Regions from separate parts of the Homo sapiens genome. Here all the other regions are linked to region 2. The links are contacts of gene promoters, found by promoter capture Hi-C in blood cells and fetal thymus (Javierre and others, 2016). All regions are on one chromosome and are shown on one strand. Each heading gives the region's core, a stretch centred on a gene start or on the middle of the fragment in contact. The rest is flanking DNA. Distances are from core to core; before and after follow the strand shown.

What was found. Contacts are between HindIII fragments. The CHiCAGO score rates a contact against its expected background, and 5 or more counts as called.
Region 1: a contact is called between a fragment that was not itself captured here and the fragment with the promoter of JADE1 in region 2, in 6 of 17 cell types (naive CD8 T cells, activated CD4 T cells, naive CD4 T cells and 3 more). The highest score is 8.5, in naive CD8 T cells.
Region 3: a contact is called between a fragment that was not itself captured here and the fragment with the promoter of JADE1 in region 2, in 2 of 17 cell types (naive CD8 T cells and total B cells). The highest score is 6.9, in naive CD8 T cells.
Region 4: a contact is called between a fragment that was not itself captured here and the fragment with the promoter of JADE1 in region 2, in 1 of 17 cell types (total B cells). The highest score is 11.0, in total B cells.

What each region holds. Positions count from the first base shown.
Region 1 is chr4:139,080,084-139,082,783 of GRCh38, forward strand. The region is part of intron 4 of ELF2 (E74 like ETS transcription factor 2); the gene reads right to left. Among named protein-coding and RNA genes, the nearest start is that of NOCT, 66 kb to the left of the region's middle. The HindIII fragment of the contact is 209 bases long and covers 1,157-1,365 here.
Region 2 is chr4:128,808,386-128,811,085 of GRCh38, forward strand. JADE1 (jade family PHD finger 1) reads left to right here and starts at 1,315. Exons shown (of 11, transcript NM_199320.4): 1 at 1,315-1,492. RefSeq lists silencers at 1,138-1,617, 2,128-2,247 and an enhancer at 1,718-1,827. The HindIII fragment of the contact is 6,052 bases long and covers 531-2,700 here.
Region 3 is chr4:139,018,843-139,021,542 of GRCh38, forward strand. All of the region lies in intron 1 of NOCT (nocturnin), which reads left to right. Among named protein-coding and RNA genes, the nearest start is that of NOCT, 4.4 kb to the left of the region's middle. The HindIII fragment of the contact is 254 bases long and covers 1,198-1,451 here.
Region 4 is chr4:139,560,123-139,562,822 of GRCh38, forward strand. No RefSeq gene overlaps it. Among named protein-coding and RNA genes, the nearest start is that of SETD7, 5.3 kb to the left of the region's middle. The HindIII fragment of the contact is 1,271 bases long and covers 802-2,072 here.

The DNA.
Region 1 (2,700 bases), core at 11-2,510, about 10 Mb after region 2:
AATTATTTTAAATAGTTATCAAGAACATTCTGCTGCCTGCCCTTCTCCACCAACCAAATTTGTTTCTAAAATAGTTTTATGTTGAATGATTCTGATTGGCTATTTACACACTGACTGATGTGACCATGTAACTCAGTTTTTACATGAATTTTAGTACCAATGCTGCAATGAATTGTGAAGGGTAATTTCTTAAATTCATTTTCAAATGAGCTTTTTAAAAAGAAAACTAGTGTCATTCCTTGAGTTTCATTTTAATGTATCTATTCACATACTGCTTTTAACTTCTTTTCATACTGCTAATTTTTTTTCAATTTGATCTTTTCAAGATTGAGACTACATATTCCAATTTATAGTAAATCAGAAATGAGATTTTCAATTTCATAATGAACTTTAATAAAATAGATTTGTTTTCTGTCAGTGAAAATATTTAGGCTAAATTTCCAGAAAAATTTCACCTTCATTTAATAACTGCATTGTTGACCAAAACTTCTGATTACCTTATTTCGCAAATGTAAAAATAAAATAAAATAAGAAAAGACAAATAAAGGAAAAAGTCAAGAAAGGTATACTTGAGAATAAGGCAGAAATCTTCCAGAAAATCCAGACTGTTCATACACAATACTTTAACATAAATATTAGGAAAGTAACAATGCTAGACATTTGTTTTTCCTATATTAAGCTATATACACTAGAAATGAGCCTAAATTATTAATTAGACTATATTACAGACTTAAACATATAAAGAGCCTCAAGTTCCAATTTGGCACACATTTTTATTTTCAAAGACTGGATAAAAGAAGTTAACCTACCAATTACATAACGAACTTATAGACATATTCATTCACATGGTGTAATATTAGAAAAAAAAAAAAAAACCCAAGGAGAAGCCCTACCTTTCCATTAAGTATTTCCAAGCCACTTATTTTAGAGCTTTAAAAGTCATTAGCAATCATCTAGTCAACCCTGTCTTCTTAGAGAAAAATGAAGCCCTAAAGATGTTAAGTCACTAGCTAGTTTAGTGACAGCTAGATATAGATCCTCAACTCTTCAGGGTCAAGGCTCGTTCTCATACATCATATTGTCCATGAAATTTTAAAGTACGTCGAGTCTTTACTACAAACATACTTTGTAAAATGACAGTGAGTTTTAATAAATAAGCTTATTTATTTCATCCTTTACTCAAACTCCTCTGGCAGCATAAATGTTTATAGCTAAAGGAATGCACATGTGATACTTAACACCTCAAAAGGAAGAAAAGCAAAAGTATATTCGAGCTTAACATGTACCTTAACATGTAGCGACAGTGATAATATTAAGTGTTATATACTTGCTTAGAAACATGTTATGCTGAAAATATTAACCTAAAGCTTATCTCCTCTAGAAGTTGTATAAATATCATTCTACACTAATCATCAACCCATTATAGCAATCACTGGAACTATTTTTTACATTTATACATTATATAGATTTTCACCTGTCTCCCCAGACTGTAAAATCTTTGTGAGGAAGAATTCTCTGTCACACCTGATGACCTCCCTCAAGGAGATAAAAAGGTATTCTGTCCATTACACAAATACAAACTTTAGAAACATTATCCTACCAATGCTATTGAAAATTGGCAGCAATAAAAATTTAGAATCATGATTCCTAATCTTCTGGGCCATCTTTCCTCCCTAACTTTTAACACACTGAATAAACCTTGGGTAAAAGAGCAAACCTCTCTCAAGTTTCCTTCTAAAATAAGGCTTGTAAGGGAGCTTCAGATTACATGAACATAATTGGTGACATAACTTGAAAATAACTGTATGTAAAACATATTCTTTACAGAACATTATTATCATAAACTTTAAGATTCGTATATAGTACAGAAATGCAGTAGAGCTGGAAAACAGCACTTTTTAAAACCCCTTATCAAAAGACAAAACTTTTGTCTTTTCAAACCAAAGACAGTCTTTTATATACACACATATATACTCCAAGGAGAATACCTACAGGCCATATTCAGTTTCACCGGTAATTCCAAAAGCTTACGAAAAAATAGTTTCCAATGGCAAAGTGAAGCCCTCCTACCTTTACAGTATTTTTCAAAGTTTTGATGCAAAGGCATTCTAAGGTTCTTTCCGTGTGTTCGCAGCCACTGGAAACAACATCTCTTGAACTGTACATATTCAATATTCACAGAAATATCATTGACCCAACAACTTCACGTATCGTTAGTACCAATAATATAAAGCCAAAAATTCCATCCCTTAATTCATATTGTAGTAATGGACAATATATACAAAGGAATCAAGTTCTCATTGTGCTCTCTTACTAAACTTAAGTTCTTGTTCTGACCAGAAAGCAACTGTCAAACAGATGTGTTTTAATCACTACTCAGTAAACTGCATTTTCCTTTGGAACCTCTGAAACACATATTTTTACATTTTATAGAATAAAAGACTGGTCACCACTGTGTTGTACTCAATACATACATATTATTTCAGACTTTGAACCTAGAGCGCTTCCGTTAAATTTTGATACATGTGTTCATGATTTCCCCCATCGAACTGAGTCACAGAGTTTTGCCAAGCAAACTACTAATTTCAAGTCCCTTACCTAAAAACAATGGATGGAAGACTGTTAAGATCTTTTACAGAATTACTGTTCCCTGAGTATTTCTCATCGTCCACTTCCCATCCATGGCAATATGAAATAGGA
Region 2 (2,700 bases), core at 65-2,564:
TGGTGTGGGATTACATGAAATCAAACCTGATATATTCAGAAAGATTCTTCCGGTGGACACATATGCCTTTTGGGTTCGATATTCAATTTTGTAATTAGTGATCACTGTTCCTATTTATTTATTTATTTATTTGAGACGGAGTTTCGCTCTTATTGCCCAGGCTGGACCACAATGGCGCATTATCGGCTCATCACAACCTCCACCTCCCGGGTTCAAGCGATTCTCCTGCCTCAGCCTCCCCAGTAGCTGGGGTTACAGGCATGTACCACCATGCCCGGCTAATTTTGTATTTTTTAGTAGAGACAGGGTTTATCCATGTTGGTCAGGCTGGTCTTGAACTCCCGACCTCAGGTGATCCGCCCACCTAGGCCTCCCAAAGTGCTGGGATTACAGGCGTGAGCCACCGCGCCCGGCCTGAATGGGAGTTTTTAATCCGTACTTTTTTCTTATTGAAGTTGAATGTCATATACCCCTCTATTTCCCTAGATGAATCCATGAAAGAAGTATGTTGCCCTCTATATGAAAAAGCAAGCTTGTCTTCTGCAGAAAATCAGTAACCACTCCTTTTTACACATAAATACCCCCAAATGAATCTCCGATGACTGATCTGATACTAGTCTGCAATTCTAGTTTTAGCATTAGGCTCACTCCTCATATTTGGGAGAAGATGTCCAATTCTGTAGTAATGTGTAACATAAAGTGGTGTCAATTTATAAATAATATCTTCTAATGAATTAATGCTCATTTGCAATGATCACTTCCATACAAATTTAGGTAAAGATGTTATTCAGAATTGGATTCTCTCTATTTAAAAATGTCATCCTAATGTGCAACTCCCTAAAACTGTTACTACAAACAACTATTTTGCCACTCAGCCTAAAAATAAAACCTTTCACCCAAATGACACATCTTAATAGCCATATTTTAATCTACGTAATTTTAAACTATTCTGAAAGAATCCATTTCTAGATGTCAGACAAGAGTTGAAACTGGGACAGCAGTTTGAAGGGGCTAATTTAAAAACCCACTTGCTTGGAGACACCTCAAGAATTTCTAGGCTCACAAGGTGGGTGAAGTAAGGAAAGAGACTAAGAGCTGAACAGTGCCGTTCTTTGCGAGCCCCCACTGGCGCAGGCTGAGCCGGCTGCGGCTAGGGCTGCGAAGAGTTAACGAGGGACCGAGCCCCAGCGCCGCGGGCTCCCCGCATGCTCCCTCCGCCCTCCCGTCCCCACCCTCTCGTTTTGGCAAGGGATTAAAGTGCTCCCCCCTGTGGCAGCAGTGACCCAGAAATGAGTTTGATTCACATAGTCCTTCCTCCATAACAAGCCAAACGCCAGACCGAGAGTGCCTCCGTGCGCGAGTGCCCGGTGTGTGCGCGCCGGCGAGAGCAGGGGCCCGCCCGGCTCCCCGCCCGCCGCGGCCCGAACTCATGCAGCTCCGAGCGAGCGAGCGGCGCCCAGCCCAGCGCCTCGGCCGAACCCCTCCGCAGCAGGTACGCGCGCGGGCCGCGGGGGGCGCGCGGGGTGGGCGCGCCGCGCGTGTGTCCGCGCGTGTCCGCGTGTGGGTCCGTGTGCGCGTCCCGGTCCCGCGGCGGCGACGGCGGCGGCGGCGGCGGCGGCTGCAGGACGAGCCGAGAGGCTCAGCCATATTTGATGGTTTTGTTGCTTTGCTCGGGAGTTCTCGGGAGTAATTTAATGCCGAAGGTCGCTGCCTAGTGGAAATAATATAATACGTCATTAATATGGCGCCAAAAGATTGGGTTCTCGATCTGTAGCGAGGAGGGAGGGAGGCAGCCGCTGAGCGCAGCGTTACTATCCCACCAGTAACTTGGGCATTGCCGGGGCGGGGGCCGGAGGAGGAGGAGAGGATGATTTTTGGATCCTGAGAATTGATCTATGTTGGATCAGTAAGTTTTATTATGATTTTTTTTTTCAAATTTGGGGGGCTGAAGACTTAGAGCTATTTCTTCTTTTGGATTTGCGAAGAACATGCGGTTTTCAGGTGAATCATCAATTAAACGCGTTTAGGAGCAGAAGCCCAGTTTAAGTTGGCTTTAGTTTATAGGTTTTTTTTTTTTTTTTTTTTTTTTAGAAAGCCAAAGTGCATTAGGCTGCATGAAAGTGGAAAGCATAGTAGCAACTTGGTAGACAGATGGCAATGGCAGAACGCAGGTTCGCGTACATATATGAATCCAGAGTGTGTGAGACCGTGTGTGTGGTGGGACTGTATTTGTCCAAACATAGGTGTGCGTAGGTACATCTGTGTGTGGTGGCCGCAGCCCTGGCTCTTGTCACCGCGTCACCACATGTCCAAAATATTCATTGCATCAATTCAAGGGCAGTGAGAGGGGGGTGGGGGTGGGGGTGGAGGGACAGTTTGGCAATTAGATTCTTCCGAACTGGGCTTCCAGTGATCAGATCTTTTACTTACAGCGCGACTGCTTGTAAAGTGTAAAACCCCTTAATCGATGAAATGGGGTAGGAGTTGGCGTTGGTAGAGCAAAGTACCGATTAATCGTGAACTTAAAGGGGATTGCAAATTGCAACCTTTGGCACCATCTGCAAATTGTGGGGGTGGGGTCTCTTGGTCTCCTTGCTTCCTTAAATGAACGTGTAGTGTGTACCCCGGGACTGCAAGTTGCAGAGCCCTTCAGTGCACGTGTCTTGTGCCTGTGAGTCTGTGTTTGCGAGTTGGGGGCTG
Region 3 (2,700 bases), core at 75-2,574, about 10 Mb after region 2:
AATGGGTGGCATTTCAGCTGGCTCTTGAAGCATGGTTAGGATTGGAAGAGATTACTATAAAGCGTTTTGTTTGGAAAAAGCAGGAGTAAATGCAGAAAGGCATGAGACACACACAGATGAGGAAGGGTGAGAGAAGAGGCACTTTGCAAAAATGGACATTGTTTTCCAAAGAGCCTCAGACCCAGCACTAAGTGCTTTTTAATTTTAATTTTTATTTTTATTTTTTTTGAGACAAGGTTCTCTCGCACTGTTGCCCAGGATGGAGTGTAGTGGCGCCACCTCTGCTCACTGCAACCTCCACCTCCCAGGCTCAAGCAGTTCTCCTGTCTCAGCCTCCTGAGCAGCTGTGACTACAGGCACACGCCACTGTGCCGGGCTAATTTTTGTATTTAGTAGAGACAGGATTTCAACGTGTTGCCCGGGCTCGTCTCAAACTCCCCAGCTCTGGTGATCCACCTGCTTTGGCCTTCCAAAGTGCTGGGATTACAGGTGTGAGCCACTGCGCCCAGCCTATGAAGTGCTTTTTTAAAATGCAGATTCTTGGATCCTACTGTAGACCTATTAAGTCTGAGTCATTCATGATGGGCCCTGGATTCCACATAACCAAATGAAATGACAAAAAGAATAACTCCAGATTGTTCTTCTATGCCCTCAAATTTGGACATCTGGCACCCATATGTGAGAGAGACATTGAAGGGGCCAAAAGCTCCTCTCCACTCCTGAGCCTTGTGGTGGGGAGTAGTGAGTCCCGACAGCTGTCCACATTTGCTAATCAGTTCCTGCATAACTTATGCCCCTTGGCAATTGGTAGTTATTGGGAAGATAAGTACAGTCCCTTTGGAGTTATCAGATTCCAGGTTGTTAGAATTAAAAGGTGACCCTAGGGATGATCTCGGTGTTTGGCTTTCTTTTCTCAAGGATAGCAGCCCCCCTAAGAAGTAGCAGTTGCCACAGTTACTGTACTGGATGAAACGCAGTTGGAAGTCATCTGTGGATTTATAAATGCTATCCTCCACATCCCTCCTCCTCAGAGAATGAAGAGCTGGCTGAACTACTGTTCTCTACCATTAGAACATTTGCTTTTTTTCATGGTACAATTTATAGGCAAATGCCACCAGCTCATTTGAGAAGGCAGCTTTATTTAATATGTCCTTTAACTATGTGAGTAAACTGCTTATGAGAGAGAAGAAACGGGAAAGCTTGTCATTATCAAGCTGCTATGGAATAAATTGCTTTCCTTGTGGGAAAACTAATGTATGATTTTTCTGTTAGCATTCAATGGCAACAGTTTAAACATGGTGAACTGGGGTTCTTTGGGGTTAATAACCATGGCTCCAGATTCACATTCCACACACTTAACATTTGTAAATCATTTAACCTTGCTTGCTGTCTCAACACTAGACTTTACCTAGAACAAATGAATAAGATCAATTGATAGCAATTTATCCACAAGCTTTATTGAATAGTACATGTAAAAGGTGACATGACTAATTGCAGTGGGAGTTGAGAAGAAAGAAATCAGTGTGGCTGAATTTGTCAAGAAATGCTTTGCTTCTAATAGGTGAAAAAGGAGGGTGTTTTGGAAGGGGACAGTTTGCGGGGTGGTGGGGGCAGGCAGAGAAGACCACACACACAATGCCTGGAAGAAGGTGGCGCTCGCATGCAGGAGCTGTGGCAAGCATCTTAGGAAAAGGGGTAGAGGCAGAATCATTTGGGACAGTTGTTAAAATGCAGATTTCTGGCCTTTCAGCCCTCTGCTTGATCAGTTTCCTGTGGAGAAGCCCGGTGGAGTGCATATTTAACAAGTGCCTCAGGGGATTCTTCCAAAAAGATTAGGGAGTATTTATGAGCTCTGCCCCTCCTTTCCCCAAAGGTACTTATTCCTGGAAAGCTTGAGAAGCTCTGGAGAGGATTCTGGAAGAGCCTTAAGACCTTTGGTCTGGCCGGGCACAGTGGTTCACGCCTGTAATCCCAGCACTTTGGGAGGCCGAGGTGCGGATCACTTGAACTGAGGCATTCAAGACCAGCCTGGGCAACATGGTGAAACCCTGTCTCTACTTACATTAGAAAAAAAATAGCCAAGTGTGGTGGTGCACACCTGTACATCCCAGCTGCTTCGGAAACTGAGGCAGGAGAATCACTTGAACCCAGGAGGCGGAGGTATCAGTGAGCCGAGATTGCGCCATTGCACTCCAGCCTGGGCGACAGTAGGAGCAATACTCTGTCTCAAAAAAAAAAAAAAAAAAAGGATCTTTGAGCTTGGGGCCTAAGGCAGTTCAAGAGACCCCTGAGAAAGAACATTGACCCCCGAAAAAAGCAGCTTTAAAAAATTGTATATTTTGTCGAGACGGGTTTTGCCGTGTTGCCCAGGCTGGTCTCGAAATCCTGGGCTCAAGCAATCCTCCCGCCTCAGCCATCCAAAAGTGCTGAGATTACAGGCATGAGCCATCACGCCCCGCCAAAAGCAGCTTTTAAGAAAGGGAAGAAATTCCAGGGCCGGGCACAGTGGCTCAAGCCTGTAATCCCAGCACTTTGGGAGGCCAAGGCAGGCGGATCACCTGAGGTCGGGAGTTCGAGACCAGCCTGACCAACATGGAGAAACCCCATTTCTACTAAAAATACAAAATGAGCTGGGCGTGGTGGCACGCACCTGTAATCCCAGCTACTCTCAAAGAAAAAAAAAAGGGAAGAAATTTGCAT
Region 4 (2,700 bases), core at 187-2,686, about 11 Mb after region 2:
TTTTCCCACCAAATTAGCCAGTTTGATTGAGTTTTTGCTTTGTCTGTTTTGGTTCCACCAAGAACTAGCCAAGCAACTGGGCAATTCAGTTCTGCGGGGGCCGGGGGGGGGGCCTTCGTTTTCCCATCTGTAAATGAAGAGTTGGGCTACATAAATTCGAAGCTCAAACCTTCTCTGTCCACCTTTTCTGGAGAAAAGGTAAATAGAGCCTGAGAAGCCCCAGGAAAAGGCACATAAAAAGGAAATGGGAAGAAGCCAGGGCAACTCCAACAAACTGAATACTCAAGTCCTCTCACGTTAATGGCTCTATCTGGGCAGGCAGGTGAGGGGAGAACCTTTATCTTGACTCTAGGGAGGGAAGCATGGAAGTTTTAGGAGAACCAAGGTTCCTGGGTTCTGAATCACTGAGTCACTAATCAAGTGGCTAACTGTGTTAGTGACAACTGCAGAAGCTGGAGGGAGGGGCTGGGAGAGGAGCAGCGAGGAGGAGACGGGTGGGGGAGGAGATGGGGATGAAAGGGAAGCGTTTGCAGCTTGTGGAGCACTGGGAAGAGCAGGGACATCAAGGGCACCAAATAAAGGTCCAGGGAGCAAAGAAAGAAATGGAGAAAATTCATTCTGCTGGAAATAGACATGAGTGCAGTCAGGAAGAAGACTTACAGATTCAGGGTGACCTGATTTGATTACAGCAACAGGAAGTGCAAGAGAGAGAGGGCAGAATAACCTGACCTAAGGAAGTGAATTAAATAATAGAGAAGACACCACAGTTGCCATGGTATTAAAATACCTCATGCCACATTAAGCTTCCTCTTTCTCTTTTGCTTGATTCTTGTTTTTGCAACATGTTAATGTTGCAATGACATGTTAATGTCATTGCAGGGTATCCAGTAAACTAAATTTAGACTTTCTGGGGCGGGGAGGGGAGGGAAGATGCAGCCCAGATCTCCCTGTTTGGGTCGACTCTGGGCCAATATTGTTCCTTCACAGAGTTCTTGGGGTTTTTTGCATTATGGGATATGAAAACTCTTATGTCAGGCTTGGGCCTAGTGAAGCTGCTGAGTGAAATGATTGAAAAAAAAAAAATGAGGCCAGGCACGGTGGGTCACGCCTGTAATTCCAGCGCTTTGGGAGACAGAGGCAGGTGGATCACCTGAGGTCAGGAGTTCATGACCAGCCTGGCCAACATGGTGAAACCCTGTCTCTACTAAAAATACAAAAATTACAAAAATACAAAAACTGGTGGTGCATGCCTGTAGTCCCAGCTACTTGGGAGGCTGAGGAAGGAGAATCACTTGAACCTGGGAGGCGGAGGCTGCAATGAGCCGAGATGGCATCACTGCACTGCACTCCAGCCTGGGCCACGGAGTGAGACTCCATCTCAAAAAAACAAACAACAACAAAAAAAACCCTCACACACACACACACACACACAAAGAAAAATTGGAAATAGTTTTCAAAGGGGCATCTGTTTTAGAAATTACTTTAGAAAAACAATAGGATTGCAGAAACTTGAAAAATAAAGACAAACCGCCACCAAAACCAAATGTGTTTTCATAGATATTATTTTCTCTAATTGTTTTTGAAAAATTACTTTACTAGGCTAAAATTAAGATTATTGAGTCCTGCAATTGGTCCTCTGCAAAAGTAGACATTGCAGAGGGCAGGTACATGGTATACTCTTTTGACACTACAATATCCAGGATGGGCAGAGGAGTATTTCCAGCTGACCTATTTACCACAAATGTCATAACATTCATCAAGGGTCAGCTCTTGACCTTCCTCAAGTGGACTCACATTAACTAGACCCCGAGAGACTGAGATGTATGCCTGAATTATGATGGACAGATCAGAATACTCACACTGTCAGGGCAAAAGATCTCTCTATATAAATAAATGCACTTGAGAAGACAAATTCCATCCAAAAGTTTGCTTAGTTATCTGGAGTAGAATGAAGGACATTAGTTGTGTGGTCCACAAGACAAATACTCTGATACAGTGTTCTGAAAGAATGAGGCTGCCCACCCATCCCACTCACCTCTGCTTAGATGGGCCCTATGGCTTCTGAGGCTTCAAGCTTCTTTCTCCGTGCTCTAGTTTCTCCAAACCTGATTCTCCACACAGCGTCCTATACAGCCCATTAGGCAGATTTACACTTTCTAAGTCATAATGACATTCTCTATCTTCCTGGCATTACAGCCAAGTCACTTTAATGGGAATTTGAGGTAATCCTCAAACTTCTCAGTCACAAATTGAGTCACTCTCTTGGTTTATGCCCACTGAATTCTAGTCAAAACCATTGAGTGTGCAGATTTTGGTAGTCAAACTTTCTGAGAGCAACCTGGTTCTCAAGTTCTTGGGAAAGCACCTCATTTCTGCTTCACAAGCCATCAACAGTGGGCCAACCTTCTTAGGCTACCATGATTTCTGAGAAAGAGACCAGAGACATATTAAGACCCACGTGGCCTGTCCTGTGATACAGTCATCCAAGTTTTCCTGGGCACTCAGCTCAAAGATATTTCTATTCTGTGCAGGAGTGGAGAGGTTGGCTCTTTGCTATGATAGCTTAGGCAACGGAACGCCACCTTGAGGATGCAGATTCCATCTACTATAACATAGATGGAGGGCAAAGTGTCCTCTTCATTTTCCAAATGGGACTGTCTGGCTTTGAATCCAATATCCAGAAATGAAAATACCCATGTG